4 separate regions of the Homo sapiens genome follow, and regions 1, 2 and 3 are each linked to region 4. The links are contacts of gene promoters, found by promoter capture Hi-C in blood cells and fetal thymus (Javierre and others, 2016). All regions are on one chromosome and are shown on one strand. Each heading gives the region's core, a stretch centred on a gene start or on the middle of the fragment in contact. The rest is flanking DNA. Distances are from core to core; before and after follow the strand shown.

Evidence for each region. Contacts are between HindIII fragments. The CHiCAGO score rates a contact against its expected background, and 5 or more counts as called.
Region 1: a contact is called between a fragment that was not itself captured here and the fragment with the promoter of VANGL2 in region 4, in 1 of 17 cell types (non-activated CD4 T cells). The highest score is 5.6, in non-activated CD4 T cells.
Region 2: a fragment that was not itself captured here is called in contact with the fragment with the promoter of VANGL2 in region 4 in 2 of 17 cell types (non-activated CD4 T cells and total CD4 T cells); the score reaches 8.1 in non-activated CD4 T cells.
Region 3: a fragment that was not itself captured here is called in contact with the fragment with the promoter of VANGL2 in region 4 in 1 of 17 cell types (non-activated CD4 T cells); the score reaches 5.2 in non-activated CD4 T cells.

Annotation. Positions count from the first base shown.
Region 1 is chr1:160,913,440-160,916,139 of GRCh38, forward strand. No RefSeq gene overlaps it. Among named protein-coding and RNA genes, the nearest start is that of ITLN1, 30 kb to the left of the region's middle. RefSeq lists an enhancer at 1-612. The HindIII fragment of the contact is 4,529 bases long and covers 1-2,700 here.
Region 2 is chr1:160,986,036-160,988,735 of GRCh38, forward strand. No RefSeq gene overlaps it. Among named protein-coding and RNA genes, the nearest start is that of ITLN2, 33 kb to the left of the region's middle. RefSeq lists a silencer at 1,364-1,658. The HindIII fragment of the contact is 816 bases long and covers 910-1,725 here.
Region 3 is chr1:160,942,297-160,944,996 of GRCh38, forward strand. It overlaps LOC101928372 (a long non-coding RNA gene), which reads left to right. Exons shown (of 6, transcript NR_110695.1): 4 at 2,562-2,662. Among named protein-coding and RNA genes, the nearest start is that of ITLN2, 11 kb to the right of the region's middle. The HindIII fragment of the contact is 4,320 bases long and covers 1-2,700 here.
Region 4 is chr1:160,399,188-160,401,887 of GRCh38, forward strand. It overlaps VANGL2 (VANGL planar cell polarity protein 2), which reads left to right and starts at 1,377. Exons shown (of 8, transcript NM_020335.3): 1 at 1,377-1,682. The region is part of intron 3 of LOC105371466 (a long non-coding RNA gene); the gene reads right to left. The HindIII fragment of the contact is 3,661 bases long and covers 1-2,700 here.

The sequences.
Region 1 (2,700 bases), core at 116-2,615, 510 kb after region 4:
GGCTGGAAGGGGAAGGCCGCTTGGGCCTCTGCCTAGGAAAGCCAGGTATTGTCCAAAGTTTCTCCCCATGTGATAGTCTGAAATATGGCCTCGTAAGAAAGGAAAGACCTGACCGTCCCCCTGCCTGACACCCGTAAAGGGTCTGTGCTGAGGAGGATTAGTAAAAGAGGAAAGAACGCCTCTTTGCAGTTGAGACAAGAGGAAGGCATCTGTCTCCTGCCTGTCCCTAGGCAATGGAATGTCTTGGTGTAAAACCCGATTGTATATTCCATCTACTAAGATAAAGGAAAACCACCTTAAGGCTGGAGGTAGGACAGCAGGCAGCAATACTGCTCTTTAAGGCATTGAGATGTTTATGTGTATACATATCTAAAGCACAGCACTTAATTCTTTACCTTCTCTATGATGCAGAGACCTTGTTCACGTGTTTATCTGCTGACCTGCTCTCCACTATTATCCTATGACCCTGCCACATCCCCCTCTCCGAGAAACACCCAAGAATGATGAATAAATACTAAAGGAACTCAGAAGCTGGCAGAATCCTCCGTAATGCTGAATACCAGTCCCCTAGGCCCCCTTTTTCCTTTCTCTATACTTTGTCTCTGTGTCTCTTTCTTTTCAAAGTCCCTCGTTCCACCTAATGAGAAACACCCACAGGTGTGGAGAGGCAACCCGCCCCATCATGAGCCACTGTGCCCAGCCTGAATTAAATTTTTTAAAGTTTAATTGAGCAATGAACAGTTCCCGAAACTGGCAGCCTCCCAAGCCAGAGTAGGTTCAGAGACTCCAGCGCAGCTACGTGGTGGAAGATTTACTGATGGAAAAGGAAAGTGACATACAGAAAATGGAATTGAGGTACAGAAACAGCTGCATTGGTTATAGCTTGGCGTTTGCCTTATTTGAACACAGTTTGAACATTTAGCCACATTTGATGGTCAAAATTTGGTGACTGGCACAAGAGTAGACCACAGTTTGTTCACATTTCCACTTAGGCTATAGTTCATGATGAAACCTTTAAGCCGAACTGAAAATATGTAACGAAGCCGCTTTAGGCTAAACTTGATTTAACAAATTCCCCCTTTTGGTCATCCTCTCAATTTTGAGAGATTTACTGAAACTTTAGTCATTGATGTCACAATCACCGTCATAAAAGTACTTATTTGGTCTTGAAACCCACTGGGAAATGGTAGAACAGTGGGTTTTTGCAAGGTGAGAACAAGGACTTTGGGTTGTTTTTTTAAGGGTAGAGGGTACTTCCTTATGCTGGGACGTCCTGTTTACAGGAGAAAAAACAAAACCTGGTCTGTTCTAGGATCTATGTGCTTCCTTAAAATCTTAATTTGATTATGTCACATTTAGAACAAGTGACTCCATTTTGGTTTGGTCTGGTCTGTTTGGGCCTAGTGCATGAGCTCAGTCCAAAACAATGGCCTTCCATAATTTGGTTTACAAATTTCCCCATTTGGTCCTCACTTAGGTGAGATGGTGACCAAAACTTAGTGTAACTCTCAGTTGCCATCATTTTGGATTCCAGTATCAGCATGTCATTCACAGGTTACAGTGCCCTCATGGTCACACATTTCTTTTCTTTTTTTTTTTTTTTTTTTAGACAGGGTCTTACTCTGTCACCTAGGCTGGAGTGCAGTGGAGCGATCTCGGCTCATTTCAACCTCCACCTCCTGGGCTCAAGTGATCCTCCCACTTTTGCCTCCTGAGTAGCTGGGACTACAGATGTGCACCACCACACCCAGCTAATTTTTGTACTTTTTGTAGAGATGGGGTTTCGCCATGTTGCCCAGGCTGGTCTCAAACTCCTGGACTCAAGGCATCTGCCTGCCTTGGCCTCCAAAAGTGCTGGGATTACAAGTATGAGCCACCATGCCTGGCCTATGGTCACACATTTCTTTCAGCCCTTGTCATTCCAGTTGAAGCAAGACCATTTGACATTTTAGTGATGGCTGCATGCAAACATTTAAAACTTTTGAGAGAATACAGTGCACCAAGGAGACTACTATTATGACAATCATGAGGATAATACCAAGAGTTTGGCATATATTCTTTACTCAGGGTCCCCATAAACCAACTCCTAAAATCAAATAGGTTAAAAAAAAATGAGCTAGATATACAGTCTACTTGCTTAACTAAGCAGTCTCTTCATTAATCCCTTACAACTGAATCGCTGTCATACCCAAGACAAGATATTTCTCATTAGGCTACAAAGTGTCAGCAGTTGCACAGGTATTTCTCTGTTTAGCCAGTAAGTAATCTAAAGCAATTCTATTATTTAGCATAACTTTCACAAATAATTTAAAGTCTGTTGTATAATCATATCTATTACAGTAGAATCTGCTGTAGAGCCTATCATGAGGGATACATTTCTAATCAATGCCTCTTTTACTCCAAACCATGGAAAAATGGACCTAACGAATGATGCCCTTCTAGAAGAGTGAAGACCTCCTGGCAATGTTCTCTTTAACCCATCATGTAAGTTAAGAGGGGTGAACCAATGTTCTGTTTCTGAATGATTATGAAGTAACATATGTACCATTAAAATTTCTCACCTACATTGAGCCTTCATCTCCCATCTATCAAGGTATAATATCATCCATGTATAAGGCTCACTACAAAATCCTTCACAGATAAAAGTATACTAACAGATCCTCTTTTTTTTGTTGGGGGGGGGACAGAGTCTTGCTCTGT
Region 2 (2,700 bases), core at 68-2,567, 590 kb after region 4:
GGTGGGGGAATGTCACCGTGGCTTGACCATAGTGCAGCCAGCTCAGAGGACCTTACAAAAAGTTTCATACTTGCACGTGTTTTCTTGTGGCAAAAATATAAAACATTTAATTTCTGGGATTCTTTTTTTTTTTTTTTTTTTTTTGAGATGTAATCTCACTCTGTTGCCCAAGCTGGAATGCAATGGCGAGGACTCAGCTCACTGCAAACTCCGCCTCCCAGATTCAAGCAATTCTCCTGCCTCACCCTCCAGAGTAGCTGGGATTACAGGCGCCCACCACCACGCCTGGCTAATTTTTGTATTTTTAGTAGAGACAGGGTTTCACCATATTGGCCAGGCTGGTCTCGAACTCCTGACCTTGTGATTTGCCTGTCTCGGCCTCCCAAAGTGCTGGAATTGCAGGGTGAGCCACCACGCCTGGCTGGGATCATCTTTTTTTCTACAGAGAGAAAATCAATTGTATCTCTACCAGGCAAACAATTTGCATTTGTATTAATATGAACAGGGATCATTTGTATCACTGTCAGGCTTCTACATATTTAACTTTTCTTTCTAGAGTTGCAAAACAGTACAAGACAAGGAAGGATACTGACCTGTAGAGAATCAGAAAACCCCCAGAAGCATCCTGTCCTCTAGTCTAGACAAATCCTAGTAATCCACTGGAAGGATGCCTGTATTTGTCCATTTCAGAAACTGTCACAATTTTTCCTTAACTAACAGCAGGAATTTTGATAGCCAAAAGTCATATTGTTTATTATCACTGTGGGAGCCAAGGCCTTTGGCTCCCTGAAGTTTGCTGAAAATCACTGACGCAAGGCAGATTAATAGGAAAAAAGGCATACAAACTTATTTAATATGTATACATAGAAGCCTTCAGAATGAAGACCCAACCTCCCAGTGAGGTGCAAAAGCTTATACGCCATCATGAGGTTACAGAAAGAATGAGTTTGGATCCTGCGGGAGAAAAGGAATTCTGTTGATGGGCAATAAATGATTACTAAAGAGAATGATTTGATCAGGAAACAAATTAACTTGTAAATAGTTTTCTTTGGAATTTAGATGACCATGAGAAGCAGGCATTAACTCATGAAAAGGTCTGTTCAGGTGTGGTTACATTTTTGGTCTTACAGGAGGAAAAGAAACCTACTGTTCTCCTTGGAGGGTCTGGATCTTAGGCAAATAAAGGAACTTCAGCTTTTTGGGAGAGACCGTGTGGAGCGGGGAAGGTCAGAGAGATCTTCAGGTTGCTTCTTCGGTTCAGTACTATATTTGGGGGTATCGATTTATAAACCCCAACATTACCTAATGTATTGTTCCCGATGAGCCTCCCTCCAATCCCTTTTCCCCTGTATCCCAATGGCCGGAAACTTGTGGAAATTCTTCCCAAGGCCTCTAAAAGCAGCACTTGCTTTTGCCTGGTTGCTAATGCAAGTTGTGAATTGCGCACGTGAATCACTATCACTGTCCATCCACCACTCTCTTGCTCTAAGGCATTGAAACGGCACTGCAGAGAGACGCCAGGTAACAAAGACTCTCCTTAACCAAGCTCTAGCATGGCTTCTAGCAACTTAAGGCCTTGTCCCTAGGAGGACCTCAGCCCCCCGCTTAAAATGCCTGCCTGAAAAAGCTCATCGCTGTCAGAAAAATTTACTGTGCATCCCAGCCCAAACCTAGCAATAGACACAGGCCCCTGAACTTCATCTTAGTGCAATTACTTAGAAAGAAAGCTTGCAATTAAAACATCTTTCTCTGCCTCTTTGAGATGTAAATCTTCTACCCAGAGCTATTTTCACTGGGACCTGAGAGTTTCTTTGAAATGCAAACATTTGAGGAAATAAATCTTGCTCCAGCTCCCAACCAGGTGGGTGCCTTGCTCTAACTTGCACTACTAGCTCCTGTCGTAAAAATAGGTGCTTATTTCTCTTCTGGACAAGAGCCAATTCACAAATCCAGATTGTCTAGTCACATGGAGCAATTCTCCTTAATATCTTCATGCCTATCCCTTAGCACATCCCAGCCTTCAAAAGGCCTCCTGCATTTTTTTTTTTTTTAAGGAAGTTAAGTTCAGTTCACCTTGGGCCCTCTTCCCTACTGCAATAGTTACTACTTAAAAAAACCTATCCTAGGCCGGGTGCAGTGGCTCACGCCTGTAATCCCAACACTTTGGGAGGCCGAGGTGGGCAGATCACCTGGGGTCAAAAGTTCAAAACCAGCCTGACCAACATGGAGAAACGCTGTCTCCACTAAAAATACAAAAAAATTAGCCGGGCGTGGTGGTGCATGCCTGTAATCCCAGCTATTCAGGAGGCTGAGGCAGGAGAATCGCTTGAACCCCGGACACGGAGGTTGCGGTGAGCCAAGATCGCGCCATTACCCTCCAGCCTGGGCGACAAGAGTGAAACTCCATCTCAAATAAATAAATAAATACCTATCCTTACTTCTTGTCTAAACTATTGTCTGGCTTTGTTTAGCTTTGACACAGGCTTTATAAGCCCACAAGTAACTTTAAGGCAAAGCCTTATAAATTCATCCAAGGCACTGACATTGAAGAATGTCTAACATTTCTGTGATATGCTTCAATCTCACTTCCAGCCTGTTCCAAACCTTCTTTTTAGTTTTCTACTTCCAGAGACTTTTTCCTTTGGTTAATCACCTTGTAATTCTTAGGTCTGATTCTCGAGCTAGCACATTTCAGCCCCT
Region 3 (2,700 bases), core at 178-2,677, 540 kb after region 4:
TTTGTTGCCCTGGCTGGAGTGCAGTGGCACAATCTCAGCTCACTGCAACCTCCGCCTCTCAGGTTCAAGCAATTCTCCTGTCTCAGCCTCCCCAGTAGCTGGAATTACAGGCACCTGCCATCACACCCAGCTAATTTTTAATATTTTTAGTAGAGATGGGGTTTCACCAGTTGGCCAGGCTGGTCTCGAACTCCTGACCTCAGGTGATCCGCTCCCCTTGGCCTCCCAAAGTACTGGGATTACAGGCGTGAGCCACCATGCCTGGCCTTAAATCTCTTTTTTTAAATGCTCTTGGGCTTGGCACGGTGGCTCAGCCCTGTAATCCCAGCACTTTGGGAGGCTGAGGCAGGCAAATCACGAGGTCAGGAGATCAAGACCATCCTGGCTAACACAGTGAAACCCTGTCTCTACCAAAAATACAAAAAATTAGCCGGGCATGGTCGTGGGTGCCTGTAGTCCCAGCTACTTGGGAGGCTGAGGCAGGGGAATGGCATGAACCTGGGAGGCAGAGGTTGCAGTGAGCCAAGATCTTGCCACTGTACTCCAGCCTGAGCGACAGAGCAAGACTCCATCTCAAAAAAAAAAAAAAAAAGTTCTTTATTGCCTTCAGCTGTCAGGGCTTCATGACTTCCATTCTATAGAATTTAAACAAAATCCTCTGTTTCTCAATGGCAGCACAGCTGGCATTTGAGATCAGACCATTCTTTGTCATGGAGCAGGGATGTCCTGTGCAGTGTAAGGTGTTTCACAGCATCTCCAGCCTCTATTCACTAGATGTCAGTAGCGCTCCTGCCAGGCCTTCCACCACCACTCATTGCGGTGTCTCCAGACATTGCCAAATGTTCCCTAGATGTAGGGTTGCCAGGTAAAATATTGCATGGGACAAACATACTAAAAATATTATCGATTGTTTATCTGAAATGCAAATTTAAGTTGGCCTTCCATATCTTTATTTGCTAAATCTGGCAACCCTATCTGAGAGGTGAAAAACCCTATCTGAGAGGTAAAATCACCACTACATCTCCTACCTCCCATCCCATTTGAAAACCAATGCTCTAGTCCACAGGGAGCAATGGAGAAAAAGTGTGGTAATGGGTTTGGGAAATGTTATGATTAGATTTGCATTTGGAGCAAAGCACTTTTTGTTTGTTTGTTTTGTGTTGTGTTGTTTTGTTTGAGACGCAGTCTCACTCTGTTGCCCAGGCTGGAGTGCAGTGGCACGATCTCAGCTCACTGCAACCTCCGCCTCTGGGGTTCAAGTGATTCTCCTACCTCAGCCTCCCGAGTAGCTGGGATGACAGGCACCCACCACCACACCCAGCTAATTTTTGTATTTTTAGTACAGACGGGGTTTCACCATGTTGGCCAGGATGTTCTCGATCTCTTGACCTCGTGATCCACCCGCCTCGACCTCCCAAAGTGCTGGGATTACAGGCATGAGCCACCGCACCCAGCCTGGAGCAAAAAAACTATAAGACGTCCAAGCCCTCTTCACCAGCCAGGACTGCTGTAGTCAACATCCTGTTTGAGACCTGATTGGAATGCCTGGCTCTCTTTTTTTTTTTTTTTTTTTTTGAGATGTAGTCTCGCTCTGTCACCCAGGCTGGAGTGCAGTGGTGCAATCTTGGCTCACTGCAACCCCCACCTACTGGGTTCAAGCGATTCTCCTGCCTCAGCCTCCTGAGTACCTGGGACTACAGGTGCACACCACCACACCTGGCTAATTTTTGTATTTGTAGTAGAGATGGAGTTTCACCATATTGGCTAGTCTGGTCTCAAACTCCTGACCTTGTGATTCGCCTGCCTCGGCCTCCCAAAGTGCTGGGATTACAGGTGTGAGCCACCACACCTGGCCATCTCTCCTTTTTAGTAAGCAACTAGAGTTGGGATTCCAGATGTGGCCAGGCACATGCACCTCTGGAGAGACTACCCTGTCTGCTAAAGCTGGAAGAATAAAAGAAATGGGTGATTGTGCTATCTCCTGTTTCTCTTCTTTAATATGTTTATATTGAAGGCTTAATTTAATTAGCTAATAAAGGTGCATTAGGAAGAACTAACATGAAATATTTTCTCTTGTCCTTAAATCCAGTTCAGGGATCTCCTAAAAACAGGAACATACTTGTGTTCTGGGACAGATGAGACTTGAAATTCCAAACCCAGAATGTCTTTGTCTTTATTTTTCTTTTCTTTTCTTTTTTTTTTTTTTTTTTTGGGTAAAGTTTTGCTCTGTCACCCAGGGTGGAGTACAATGGCGAGATCTTGGCTCACTGCAACCTCTGCCTCCCTGGCTCAAGCCAACCTTCCACCTCAGCCTCCTGAGGAGCTGGGACTACAGGCACGCATTACTTCCTAGCTAATTTTTGTACTTCTTGTAAAGATGAAGTTTTGCCATGTTGCCCAAGCTGGTCTCAAACTCCTGACCTCAGGCAATCCACCTGCCTCGGCCTCCCAAAGTGCTGGGATTACAGGCATGAGCCACCATCCCTGGCCCAGAATGTCTTTTTATTTTTCAATTTTTTTATATCTTTTTGCTAATCTTCTCTGTATTGTTCCAATTTTAGTATATGTGTTGCTGAAGTGAACATTTATTTTTATTCAATGGGTTCTTCCTAGCCACTGTGCAAGCCCAGAATATGTGAGGTGGAATTCACCAGAACCATAGGTATTCTTTTAAAATATCCCTCAACACATCAGCCAATT
Region 4 (2,700 bases), core at 127-2,626:
CTTTGAACAATGCAGCATAGTTGGTTCTGTCCTCATCTTTGGACAGGTTAGAATGAACCATCAAAAGGGGTGAGATTAGGTCTCAGGAAATAGTTTTCATCAGGGAGGAGCAAAAATTCCCAAACAAGTGAGGAACAGAGGCTGGGAGTCTCTTTCTCTGGGATTCCTTAATCACAGGGTTGTTCAAGCAGGTGCCAGGATTGGAAACTGAAGGAGGCTGAGATATTGAAAAGGCCTTGGCCTGCTTAGGGAGAAGTATGTGAAGATGCTTTTGAAATGATACTACTCTAAGTGGCGGGTTGCACGGCAATAACATTAATGATAATTGAATACTGCTTTCACTTACTCCAAGGGGAACATGGACTTCCCACAGCCCAGGCTTTTACGGTGTGGGTTCACTCTTGTAGGGTCACATGTAAAAGAACCCTAACTGGTTTCTTGGCATACTGGGAGGCACAAATGCCCCAAACGTGTAGGATATTTTGTGAGATCCTACAATCCCTGTGTGGCACCTTCAACTCTAAAGTATCTGAAACTCCTGGGATGGACAATCTGCCTGCTTGGGGTTGGGGACCCAACTGGCCAAGGCATTTTTCCTCTTGGAGGTTTCCTGGGAGAAGGCCCCCTCTCCTCTGCCATTCAAACTCCCAGGCGCCCGCGTCTTTTCCTCCTCCCCTTCTTCCCTAAGGCAGGGTTCCCTTTGTAATTAATCCCAACACTCAAACCAGAGGGGAGGAAAAATGTGTTAATGAGGGAGCGTCCCAGACTGACTGGGGCGGTCGCTGCTCGCAGCTAGAACTCCAAGTAATTAAATTATTTTTGGAAGGAGGGGATATGGTGGTGATGGTGTCAGGGAAATCCCCGTATGCATGGGAAGAGGCGTGCGCCTCTCGCCACTAATTAAAATCAGGGATGACCCTCCCTTCTCGGACCCCTAGGGGGAAAAAAAAAATCAATCTTCCCACGTCCCAGATTCCATTGGATTTTGTGTAGTCGGGTCCGTGGCCCTAAAGAGAATATGGCCAGCCCCAGGGATCTGGGGGCTCCTTCTCCGACAGGAGGGGTCCAGGAAGACAGCCCCAGGAGGGACTGCGGGCTGGGCCAAGTCCAAGAATCGAGGCATTCCCCTGCCCACCGTTCGGGACCCGAGTGTCAGCCCCACCGCGGATTCCCAGGATCGGGGAGGGCCGCTGGGCATCTGAAGGCGCAGGGCTGGGGGAGCGGCGACTCCGGGAAGAGCGGGGCCGCAGACAATGGACGCGGCGGTAGGAGGGGCGGCGGCTGTGGGAACAGCCGGGAGGCGGCACCCGGGAGCTCGCGCTCCCCCGCCCCCTGCACCCCCCACCCTCATCCCCTCCCCCTCCGCCCCCTCCCCCCTGCGCCGCCGGCTCCCGATCTGATTCCTGATCCTTGATTCCTTGATCCTTGGTCCCGCCATGGGAGCCTGAGCGCCCCCTATTCCCCCCTGGCCCCCAGCCCCCGGGGCCTTGAGGGGGAAGAGGCAGCGGTCTGGGACGGAGCAGGGGGTGACCAGACTCAAGAACCCCCCCCTCAACATCCCCCATCGCGCGCGCTGCCTGTCCAGGAGCGCCGAGTTCGGAGCGACCCGGAGCGCTGCGGATACAAAGGCGACGGGCCGAGCGGGGCGCCCGCGGAGCCCACCCGGCAGTTCGCAGCGGCGGGTGAGTGCCGGGCCGCGGGGGCGCGGGCAAAGTTTGAAAAAAAAAGAAGAAAGAAAGAGAGAGAAAAAAAGAAATGGAAAAGGAGGAAAATCATGCAAGGGGCCAGGGGGTGCCCGACCCCAGAGCGAGCGGGGTGGCTTATGGGGGAAGGGGGGCTGGACTCCGGGCAACCCCCTTCCGGTCCGCTTCCCCACTGCACAGCGGAGTACCCCCCCCAACTTTGGGGAGGGGAAGGGGCTCGTGGGGAGGGGGCGGAGCCCAGGCCTGGAGAGCCGGGGACTTTCCTGGGCCCGGGCGGGGGCCTTAATGATCCCAGGGGAGCCGGTTGAAGCCGGAGACGGGGAGCTTGTGTTGGAGGTGGGGGGAGAGGCGTGGAAGGATCGGAGTCTGGAGGTATTGGAAGCCAAGGGTGTTTTGGGGTGCATACACCCCTCAGGAGCGTGGGGAGGGACGGAGGCAGGTATGCGTTAAGGGTGTAGAGTGGAGTCAGGGGGGCGGGTTGGGCAGAGTAGATAGGGTGTATGTACAGACCGAGGATGGGGCTGGAGGCGGTAGACTGTGTATAGGGGCCGAGGGGACAGGCGCTGGCATCCCTCTCCCCACTCATATTTACCCATCTGGGGGACTGTGGGCTCTGCGTTAGTGAGTTTTGAAGGGTTGGTGGAGGATCCGTGTGCATGATTCTTTGTTTTGGTGTGTGTGCACGCCTTGACGTGCTGCATGTTCCTGCAGGTGGGCCCCTGGTTTGGATGTGTAGGTGTTTTTCTGTGCTTGAGTGTGTGTGCACCCAGGGAGCGGCTGACCATGCATCTGCTGTGTGTTTGGATATGTGTTTATATGTATACTTAGGGGAGGGCGTGTATGTCTATGTGTGTGTACTGGGAGAGGGGTTCACGGGAAAGAGGTGTGTAGGTACTGAGGAAGGTGGGTGTGTAAGAGCAGAATGGAGTGTATGTGGATAGGTGTGTGTGCACCTGTGTACTGGGAAGGGGTGTGAATCTGTGTTCTCTTGTGTGTA